Linked DNA regions of Homo sapiens: region 1 is linked to region 2. Evidence: promoter capture Hi-C in human tissues and cell types (Jung and others, 2019). All regions are on one chromosome and are shown on one strand. Each heading gives the region's core, a stretch centred on a gene start or on the middle of the fragment in contact. The rest is flanking DNA. Distances are from core to core; before and after follow the strand shown. Region 1 overlaps DDX27 (DEAD-box helicase 27). Region 2 holds the start of ZNFX1 (zinc finger NFX1-type containing 1).

Region 1 (4,499 bases), core at 873-3,372, 34 kb after region 2:
TAAAAACAATGATTGAGAAAATCAGTGGTCCACGTGTATCCTCAATTTTCAGAAGCAACTCAGCCAAAGACAGTGAAGACGGGCACAGGGAAGGCACTGTCTACAGTGAGGCTGTGATTTTGTTTTTGTGATACAGGATTTTTATTTAGCTGGTGAATGAATCATTTTTACCCACGGTAAAAAGAACATTTTTTCAGCCTGTACAAAAGGGTATACCTGAAGTTTCTTTCTCCAGAGGCAAACCCTGTTAACTTCCTGAGTCCTCCCAGAGAGAACTTATGCACATGCAATACACATCCCTTAGGCCAGGCATGGTGGCTCACATCTGTAATCCCAGCACTTTGGGAGGCCACATTGGGCAGATGGCCTGAGCCCAGGAGTTCAAGACCAGCCTGGGCAACAGGGCGAAACCATCTCCACAAAAAAAAAAATACAAAAATAAGCCAGGTGTTGTTGCTTGCACTTGTAGTCCTAGCTACTCCAAAGGCTGAGGTAGGAGGATCACCTGAGCCTGGGGAGGTCGAGGTTGCAGTGAGCAGTGAAGCCACTGCACTCCAGCCTGGGCAAGAGTGAGACCCTGCTTCAAAAAAAGGAAAAGGAAAAGAAAAAGTACACAGTTCTGCACTTGGCTTTTTTAGCCTAATAACCTACTTTCTGTAAAATCCAGTAAGACAGTAGTCTGAACTGTACTCCATCACACAGTTGTGCCATCATTTTCTGAATTGGACCCTCTGTTGGTGACTTAGGTGCAGCCTGAATGAATAGCTTTGAACACACTCTTTAGTATCTAGGGTATGTGCTACTGGATAACTTATAATTTTTAAGCTGGGGGTAGGGTGGTAAGTACTCCCTGAAATTATAACAAACTATACAGTTTTCCAGGTGGGGCCCCACAGCTTTCATCTCATTCTGAGTCAGAAAAGGATGAGAACCGACGTTCTTACAGGATCAAAACTGGTTTTTGGCCAGGTACAGTGGTTCAAGCCTGTAATCCCAGCACTTTGGGAGGCTGAGGTGGTGGATCACCTGAGGTCAGGAGTTCAAGACCAGCCTGGCCAACATGGTGAAACCCTGTCTCTCCTAAAAATACAAAAATTAGCCAGGCATGGTAGCGGGCACCTGTAATCACCGGTATTTGGGAGGCTGAGGCAGGAGATTCGCTTGAACCCGGGAGGTGGAGGTTGCAATGAGCCAAGATCGTGTCATTGCACTCCAGCCTGGAGGACAAGAGACTCTGGTTTTTGCAGCAAGTAACTAATTTATGGTGTCAAGGCTCCTTCTGTCCTTTTCGGGCTTCCATTTCTCCAGCAGCATTTCCACAGCACAGCAGCAAGAGGTAAGGTGAGGGTTCAAGTAGATGTTGGTTGAAAACCTGAATTCCCAGCTGTGCAACTCTGGAAAGTTAGTCTTTCCAAGCCTCTGTTTATTGGAAAATGAGGATATCACTGCCTGCCTCACAGGAGTGCAGTGAGTTGACTGGATTCTATTCAGCACACAGAATATCTGGTGCATGGTTGGCATTCATGCTAAAGTTCTCCCCTGTTGATGTTTTAGAACTAAGAGTTATCATTTAGCTATCTTCTTCAGCTATCATTTAGCTCTTAGTTCTAGAGTATCAACAGAAGAGAACTTTTCTGTTGTTGTTGTTTTTTTTTAAGAGACAGGGTCTTGTTATGTTCCCCAGGCTAGAAGAGAACTTCTACCAAGAATTTCCTCACTCCATACCCTGTTCCTCTACAAGCATAAAGATTATGCATACCAACTGTATGTGGTGATACCAAGCTAGTAGACTGTGGGCACATTTGCCATTGAGGAAGAGATAGTAATAAGATATACACTTGGATTGGTTTCTCTTTTCCCAAAAATACTTCCATTTAATATAGTCATATGAAAGCTAATCAGCAAGAAGGGAGATTGACAGACATGCTTAGGAAAATAGCTACGTACCATACCACCACACCAAAGTGTTGTTTTTTGTTTTTGTTTTTTTTTTAAACAAATGGAGAAAAGACAGACCAGCCAGGATGACTTCCCACAGGGAAGGGATTTAAGGGCTGCCCCCATGAATTTCTTCAGGCCACGACAGCTACTTCCTCCTCTTGTATCTGTAAGAAAATCAGAGTTAAGACCAGAATGAGGATGGAGAAGCTTCTTTTCCATGAAAGGTTTTTATCTCTAATCCCAAAACCTATGCCCCTCCAAAACAGCCAGTATCACCTGGATTTAGATTTAAAGTTTCCTCCTCGTCTCTGGTGGGGCAAGCCCAACTGTTTCCTTTCTTCAAAGGAAGGGCTGTGAGAGAAGATGACATGCTGAAATGAGCAAACTGTTGAACAAATGGGTGTTGTCTCACCCCCACCCTCCCCAGCTCCTACATGAAGCAGTAGCATCTCTGGGATGCATCATTTTCAGGCCCTAAGTTCTAAGCCTTTATGTGTTTCCACCTGATAACGTGTTTCTGGAAGTCAGGGCCCAATTTTAAAACAAGGTTGGAAGAGGCCCTTCTTAGGTATATACCACTACTTGGGAAGCTTAGTCTGCCCCTGCCCCAACCTTGGGCTGGGGAAAATGGTGTGGGACAACATATTCCTAAGAGCAAGCCAGGATTCTCTGGGGTTCTGCAGGATGGAACTTGAGATGAAAGAGTTATCACTCCCCTGAAGGAAAGCTCCATTTCTGAACCCAACAATGTACTATTTCACCTCCAAGGCAGGAACAGTGCTAACTGAACACCCCTCTCCTGTTCTCACCTTGGGATCCTCAGGTGGCTCTGAGAGGGGTGGGGGGTGGAGAACAGACAGGTACCCTTGAATTTACATAGTATAAAGCTATAGGTGTGCAAAAACTGGAAATGGGGAAGGAGGCAGAAGACTCATAGCTTCCATTAGAATACCAAGGGCTCGCCGGGCACGGTGGCTCAAGCCTGTAATCCCAGCACTTTGGGAGGCTGAGGCGGGTGGATCAGGAGGTCAAGAGATCGAGACCATCCTGGCAAACATGGTGAAACCCCATCTCTACTAAAAATACAAAAATTAGTTGGGCATGGTGGCGTGCGCCTATAGTCCCAGCTTCTTGGGAGACTGAGGCAGGAGAATTGCTTGAACCCAGGAGGTGGAGCTTGCAGTGAGCTAAGATGCACCACTGCACTCCACCCTGGGCGACAGAGCGAGACTCCGTCTCAAAAAAAAAAAAAAAAAAAAAAAGAATACCAAGGGCTCCATGATGACTTAAAATCCTACCCAGCTCGATACTGTTTCAGGGCCTTCTTGCTTGTGTTGGTGAGTTCTTCATCAAATACAGATTTCTTCCCCTGCTTTTGCTTCTTGGCTGTGCACAGAGAGAATGGGTTACATATGGTTGTCTTTGGCCCAAGCTCCTAAATCCCCTTAAGTTCAAGGTAATGATTCCAAGTTCAGTGGATACTCTGGCATCCAAAGACTATTTTCATTCTGTCCTCACCAGCTCCTCCAAGTAGCAGCTGGTGAGGCCTTAGGCTCCGGAGTCAGAAAAGCTGGCGTTCAAATCCTAGTTCTCAACAACCACAAGGTCACTGCGCCCCTTAGACCGTGGAGGGATAGCTGTACACATTGGTACATACTAATTACTCAAATAATGTGGGCTACTGTCATCATCCCTCAGATTTTCTCCCTGACCCAAAGCACAGGTTTCAGGGAAAACCTTGTACAAGCTCCTTTGGGCTCCCCATTCACCTACCAGGACCTCTCACTGGCTCCTCCTCGGGCATTGCTCGGGCCCGCTTGGCTCTGCGATTCCTCTTCGCTAGCCGTTCAGCAAACATCTGCGCCTTGAGGATTTCAAACTGAGACCTTTCCTCTGCCTAGGGGGAGTGGGGAGGTGTGAGTGTGGAACACACCAGGCCACTCTGACCCACCCCACCGAGTGGGCCCAAACTCCAAAAGGGAGGCCACTCACTGTCATCTCCCCCTTTTTTTTGGCATCCTTCATAAACTTCTTCCTTTTCTTCTTTCCTCTTAAGGCCAAGTCAAATTCCTGCAGAGCTTTGGCAACTGGGATGAGAAGAAAGCATAAGATTTCAGGGATGATTTTATCTTTTTTTAAGCTTACGATAAGAAGTGCACGTTTTCAATTGGTAAGTTAGCAGATTAAAATGAAAAGCGGCAAGCACTTCTTGGCCGAGTGCAGTAGCTCGTGCCTGTAGTCTCAGCACTTTGGGAGGCTGAGGTGGGTGGATCACCTGAGGTCAGGAGTTTGGGATCAGCATGGCCAACATGGTGAAACCCCGACTACTAAAAATACAAAAATTAGCTGGGCATGGTGGTGCACCTGTAATCCCAGCTACTTGGGAGGCTGAGGTGAGAGAATTGCTTGAACTTAGGAAGGGGAGGCTGCAGTGAGCTGAGATCGCGCCACTGCACTCCAGCCTGGGCGACAGAGCGAGACCCTGCCTCAAAAAAAAAAAAGAAAAGAAAAGCCGCAAGCACTTCTTCCACTGATTACCTCCATCTCACTAAATAACA
Region 2 (4,190 bases), core at 1,573-4,072:
GAAGCCATCTGAATGCTGGAAAAAATAGAGAAAGCCCAGTTCCCATGAACAAGCAATAGTCTCTGATAAAGATAAGCAGAAAACAAAGATAGGAGTTATTACTGGGGCCAATGCATCAGACAAAACTGGCCAATAGTGTAGAGATCAACAGGGTCGATCTGATGGGGAAAGAAGCTGTATCATCAGCTGCAAAGGCCACATTTGAGTCGTACAAGAAGTAGGGTGACAAACCCACACTGAAAAGCAGCTACTACCCCCTCCAGAGCCTGTGTCTACTCAGCCAGGGAAGACGTGTTGGCACCACTTACCAATTTTATATGTATATATATATTCTACTTCCAACACCCGCATTCATCCTGGTTCAATCAAAGCCTGGTTTTGGCCAACAATAAACCTGAAATGAAAAAACAGAAAAATGAGCTCCCATCAGCTAGATGCCCAGGGGAGCTGGGACAAAGGAGCTGCTCAAGCTGGCATATCAGACAGAAACTGGCTTAGAAAAGTTAGATCAACATAGTCGATCTGTCGGGGAAAAAAGCTAAGTCATCATATATGCCAGCAGGAAGTTCTTGAGTGAGGAGTAAGATTTGAAAGCCATGAGGAGTAAGATTTGGTTGGTATGCTTCATATTTGCAAATTTGCATTCGGTGTTTGAGCACTTCTGTGTTGTATCCTGTAGCTGGCAATAACTTGGTAGCCAAACCAAACACCCCTGTCTTCAGTGCTTACACTCTGAGTACAGGCCCATGATAGAAGCCAGTGTGGCTGGAAGAGTTGAGGAAGTAGTTGGCATTTACTGAGTTGGGAAGTGAACAAGTACCAAGAGATTGCATTTTAACACAAGTTACCACAAGTTACCTGACAAAAGAACAATCTGGAACAATAAGCTTCACATGTGTTCCCATGAAGCCCAGACTTTGTAAACGCCTCACTCCTGGACTCTAGCAAAAATATTAGTTATGTAGTCGGGCACTGGTTTGAGTGGCTAGTTCAACAGAAAAACACATTTGGCTTTCCAAAATATGTCAATAAATCATCCCTCCACTTGGAAATTTAAGCGCCCCAACACACAGGAAGAATGGAATCCAAAAATATGTTTAAGTGGCATTAAAATGTTAAACGCCTCTTCACTAACAAGGTTCTTTCACTTCAGGCATTTCTCTTAAACCTGTTTCTTCACCAGAAACCTAGTTCCAATATTTGAACTGTGAGAATAAAACATTCAGAACATGTTTTTCTTTTTTTTTTTTTTTTGAGACGGAGTCTGGCTCTGTTGCCCCGACTGTAGGGCAGTGGCGCAATCTCAACTCACTACAACCTCCGCCGCCCGGGTTCGGGCAATTCTCCTGCCTCAGCCTTGTGAGTTGCTGGGATTACAGGCGCGTACCACCACGCCCAGCTAATTTCTGTATTTTTAATAGAGTCAGGGTTTCACCATGTTGGCCAGGCTGGTCTCCAAATCTTGACCTCAGGTGACCCATCTGCCTTGGCCTCCCCAAGTGCTGGGGTTACAGGCGTCAGCCACAGCGCCCGGCCGTCAGAACACTTTTTTAAATACCTAATAAATGCTCGATAGAAAGTGCTTTGTTAAATCCCACGTTTTCCTAGAAAACTAAAGCTTCTCAAAGCACGTGTTTTCTACAGTAGACCCATAGGAGACAAAGACTTACTCGTCAGGAGATCGAAGGTTGTAGATGTCTGCACGTGGCTTCCTTGGAGGTCCAGTGGTGACTCCCTCTTCCAAAATCCATTCTGTACCCGCTGGCTGCTCTAACCTGTGAACCAACAAATAAAGGGCGTTAACCGCCATCTTCCCACGGTCAGAAACGAACAAGGCCGGGCCTTTTGAGGCCGATGTATCAGAACTAACTGGCAAAATATAAGACGTCAGCATTGTCGATCTGATGGGGAAAAAAGTGAAGTCATCATTTACACCAGCCAAGGGCTTCTCAGGCCCGTGCAGAAGGCAGTGGCTTTTCCAGCTCCAGAAACTCATTTCTCCCACGCCCTTAAGGCCTATTTGGGGTCAGAGACGGAGAAGCCACGAGAAGGAGATTAGGGCTGGCCGCAGAGACGACGGCACAAAGAAGGGAAGGGAGGACCAGAGGTCTCCAACGAAGAACATGGAGTTTCCACTCACCACACACAAAACGGGAACTTACGGGCAGGACAATAGCGTATGAAGCCTGACTGCAACTAGGAGAAGTACCACACTCCGGGCACCGCAGACGCGAAAGAACGAATGGCTTCCTGAACCTCCCTTATATAACCAAAGATGGCTTTCGCACCTGCGCACTGGACCCGAAACGCTCTCTTTCCCGCCCGCTCCGCGCGCGTCGCTCTGGGAAATGTAGTCTCGAGCAGCACAGCCCGAGGCGCTCTAGTAGTTGTCCAGGCCGCGTCTAGCCCCGCCCCCTTCCCTCTACACGCCGGGCCACCCGGGCTTGTCCGCTTCCTCGCCATGTCGCGCTTCACACGCACCAAACCGCTCGACGGGTTCCCCTTCCTCTGGGGCCGGCTGAGGCCCGCAAAGGCCTTGGGCGCAGTCATCTCCCGCCCCCCGCGGTCCGCTCCCCTCAGCCGCGCCCGCCTGAGCCCGCCGGCTCCGCCGCCGGGGGGAGCTGAGGTGACGCCCTCCTCGAGGGCGGAGGCGCCGGCCGTGCCTGGGCCAGGCCCTCGTGCTCTCCACCCTGGGCCCCCGCCTCCTCCTTCTCCTCCTCTGGGCCGCCCGCCCGGCTCCGCCCAGGGTCTGCGGGGAACGGAAACCGAAAGTGCGCGGCGCCGGGCGGGGCCACCGACCTGCCTGGGCCGAAGCCCCAGCACTCGCCGGCGGCAGTGAAAGGACGCGCCGGAGCCGGGTGAGTGGCCCCGCAACTGCCCCTGCCCCTGATTCTTCCTTGCCTCGCCGCGAACCCCGGCGCCCGCGCCGACCCGCCACTGCCTCTGCCCGTAAGACCTGTCACCCTCTCAAGCCCCCAACGCACCCGTCACCCGCTCAGAGCCCCTGGCCCCTCAGCGCCCCGTCGCCCCCTCAATCCCCAGACCCCCATCACCCACTCAGAGCCTTGTCACCTCTTTGGCCCCCAGCGGCATCAGCACCCACTCAGAGCGCCTCTCAGCGCCCCGTCTCCCCCTCAGACCCCAGACCTCCATCGCCTACTCAGCGCCCCGTCACCCACTCAGCCCCTGGCCCATCTCAGCGCCCCGTCGCCCCTTCGGCTCCCCTGTACTCTCTTTAGTGTCCCCATCCCCTCAGCTGGCCCGTCGCTCTCCCCAGCACCCCCGACACCGTCACCGCTTCTGCCCTCAGCACTTCGATCTCCTCTGCCCCTACCCCTGTCTGTGCCCTCCCTTCTGCCACTCGCACCCCCCTCATTCCTCCGGCCTCACCTCCTGTCACCTTATCAATCCCCCTCTTCTACAGAGCACCTCGGCACCCCCTTCAGCCTGCTCCCTGCCCCCACCCCGCCGCCTCCGTCCTCAGCAAGCACCCCCTGGTGCTCGCTACCACCCTCTCCCCAAGGCCCCCATAACCCCGCCACCTCACAGCCTTGGCGCTCCCTGACCCCATAACATTTCCATTAGGGACCGTGGGCTCCCTGGGTCAGGGATTCCCCAGGACCCTGGAGACTTCCCCCAAACCCAGCTCTGCCTCCGACCTCAGCCTCCTGCGTCCCACTCTGGTGATGACTAGCCCCTCTCATTCTGACTCCAGGCCAGCTTGATCATCACTGATTTTCTTCTTCGTGCCCTTTAGGCCTTGATTCCCCCCACCAAAAAAAAACACTTCAGTCTGTTTTCGATCCCAGCATTTCCTGTTCATGTCTACTCCTCCCTTCCTTCCCTTGCCTTTTTTTTAACATCTTTTTTTCTTTTCTTCCGTTTCTTTTAAATTTTCTGGAGTTTCTATTTTAGCATTTTTCAACAAGGGGAAGAAGGAATTTTCCCCTCGGAGAATTGAAAATAAACAAACAAACTCTAAATACTGAGCCTGCGCCAGGAGGGCTGGGTTTGATAAGATGAGGGAGGGGACTCACCAGAGATATTCCCAGGGGGAAGAAAAGAGACTCCTTTTTCAGATGAGGAAAAAAGCTGCCCCTCATATAATGCCAAATGTAGTCACAGTTTCCAATTATGAATATTTTAGAACTCAGTGAAGACAGTCTCAAAAATCCCTTTGCTGAGGACTC

What was found. Contacts are between HindIII fragments. The study calls those that stand out against the background at their distance.
Region 1: a fragment that was not itself captured here is called in contact with the fragment with the promoter of ZNFX1 in region 2 in 6 of the 25 tissues and cell types used here (H1 embryonic stem cells, aorta, mesenchymal stem cells and 3 more).

Annotation. Positions count from the first base shown.
Region 1 is chr20:49,241,422-49,245,920 of GRCh38, reverse strand. It overlaps DDX27 (DEAD-box helicase 27), which reads right to left. Exons shown (of 21, transcript NM_017895.8): 17 at 3,934-4,028; 18 at 3,715-3,838; 19 at 3,240-3,327; 20 at 2,218-2,292; 21 at 1,848-2,105. The coding sequence ends at 2,087. It overlaps ZNFX1 (zinc finger NFX1-type containing 1), which reads left to right. Exons shown (of 14, transcript NM_021035.3): 14 at 1-21. Among named protein-coding and RNA genes, the nearest start is that of DDX27, 24 kb to the right of the region's middle. The HindIII fragment of the contact is 5,369 bases long and covers 1-4,499 here.
Region 2 is chr20:49,276,689-49,280,878 of GRCh38, reverse strand. It overlaps ZNFX1 (zinc finger NFX1-type containing 1), which reads left to right and starts at 2,822. Exons shown (of 14, transcript NM_021035.3): 1 at 2,822-2,858. ZFAS1 (ZNFX1 antisense RNA 1) reads right to left here and starts at 2,701. Exons shown (of 4, transcript NR_036658.2): 1 at 2,163-2,701; 2 at 1,671-1,775; 3 at 309-394. SNORD12C (small nucleolar RNA, C/D box 12C) reads right to left here and starts at 1,934; the gene lies at 1,856-1,934. SNORD12B (small nucleolar RNA, C/D box 12B) reads right to left here and starts at 566; the gene lies at 464-566. It also overlaps SNORD12. RefSeq lists enhancers at 2,118-2,317, 2,193-2,487, 2,245-2,745, 2,746-3,246, 3,588-3,647 and silencers at 2,408-2,767, 2,818-3,047. The HindIII fragment of the contact is 7,798 bases long and covers 1,254-4,190 here.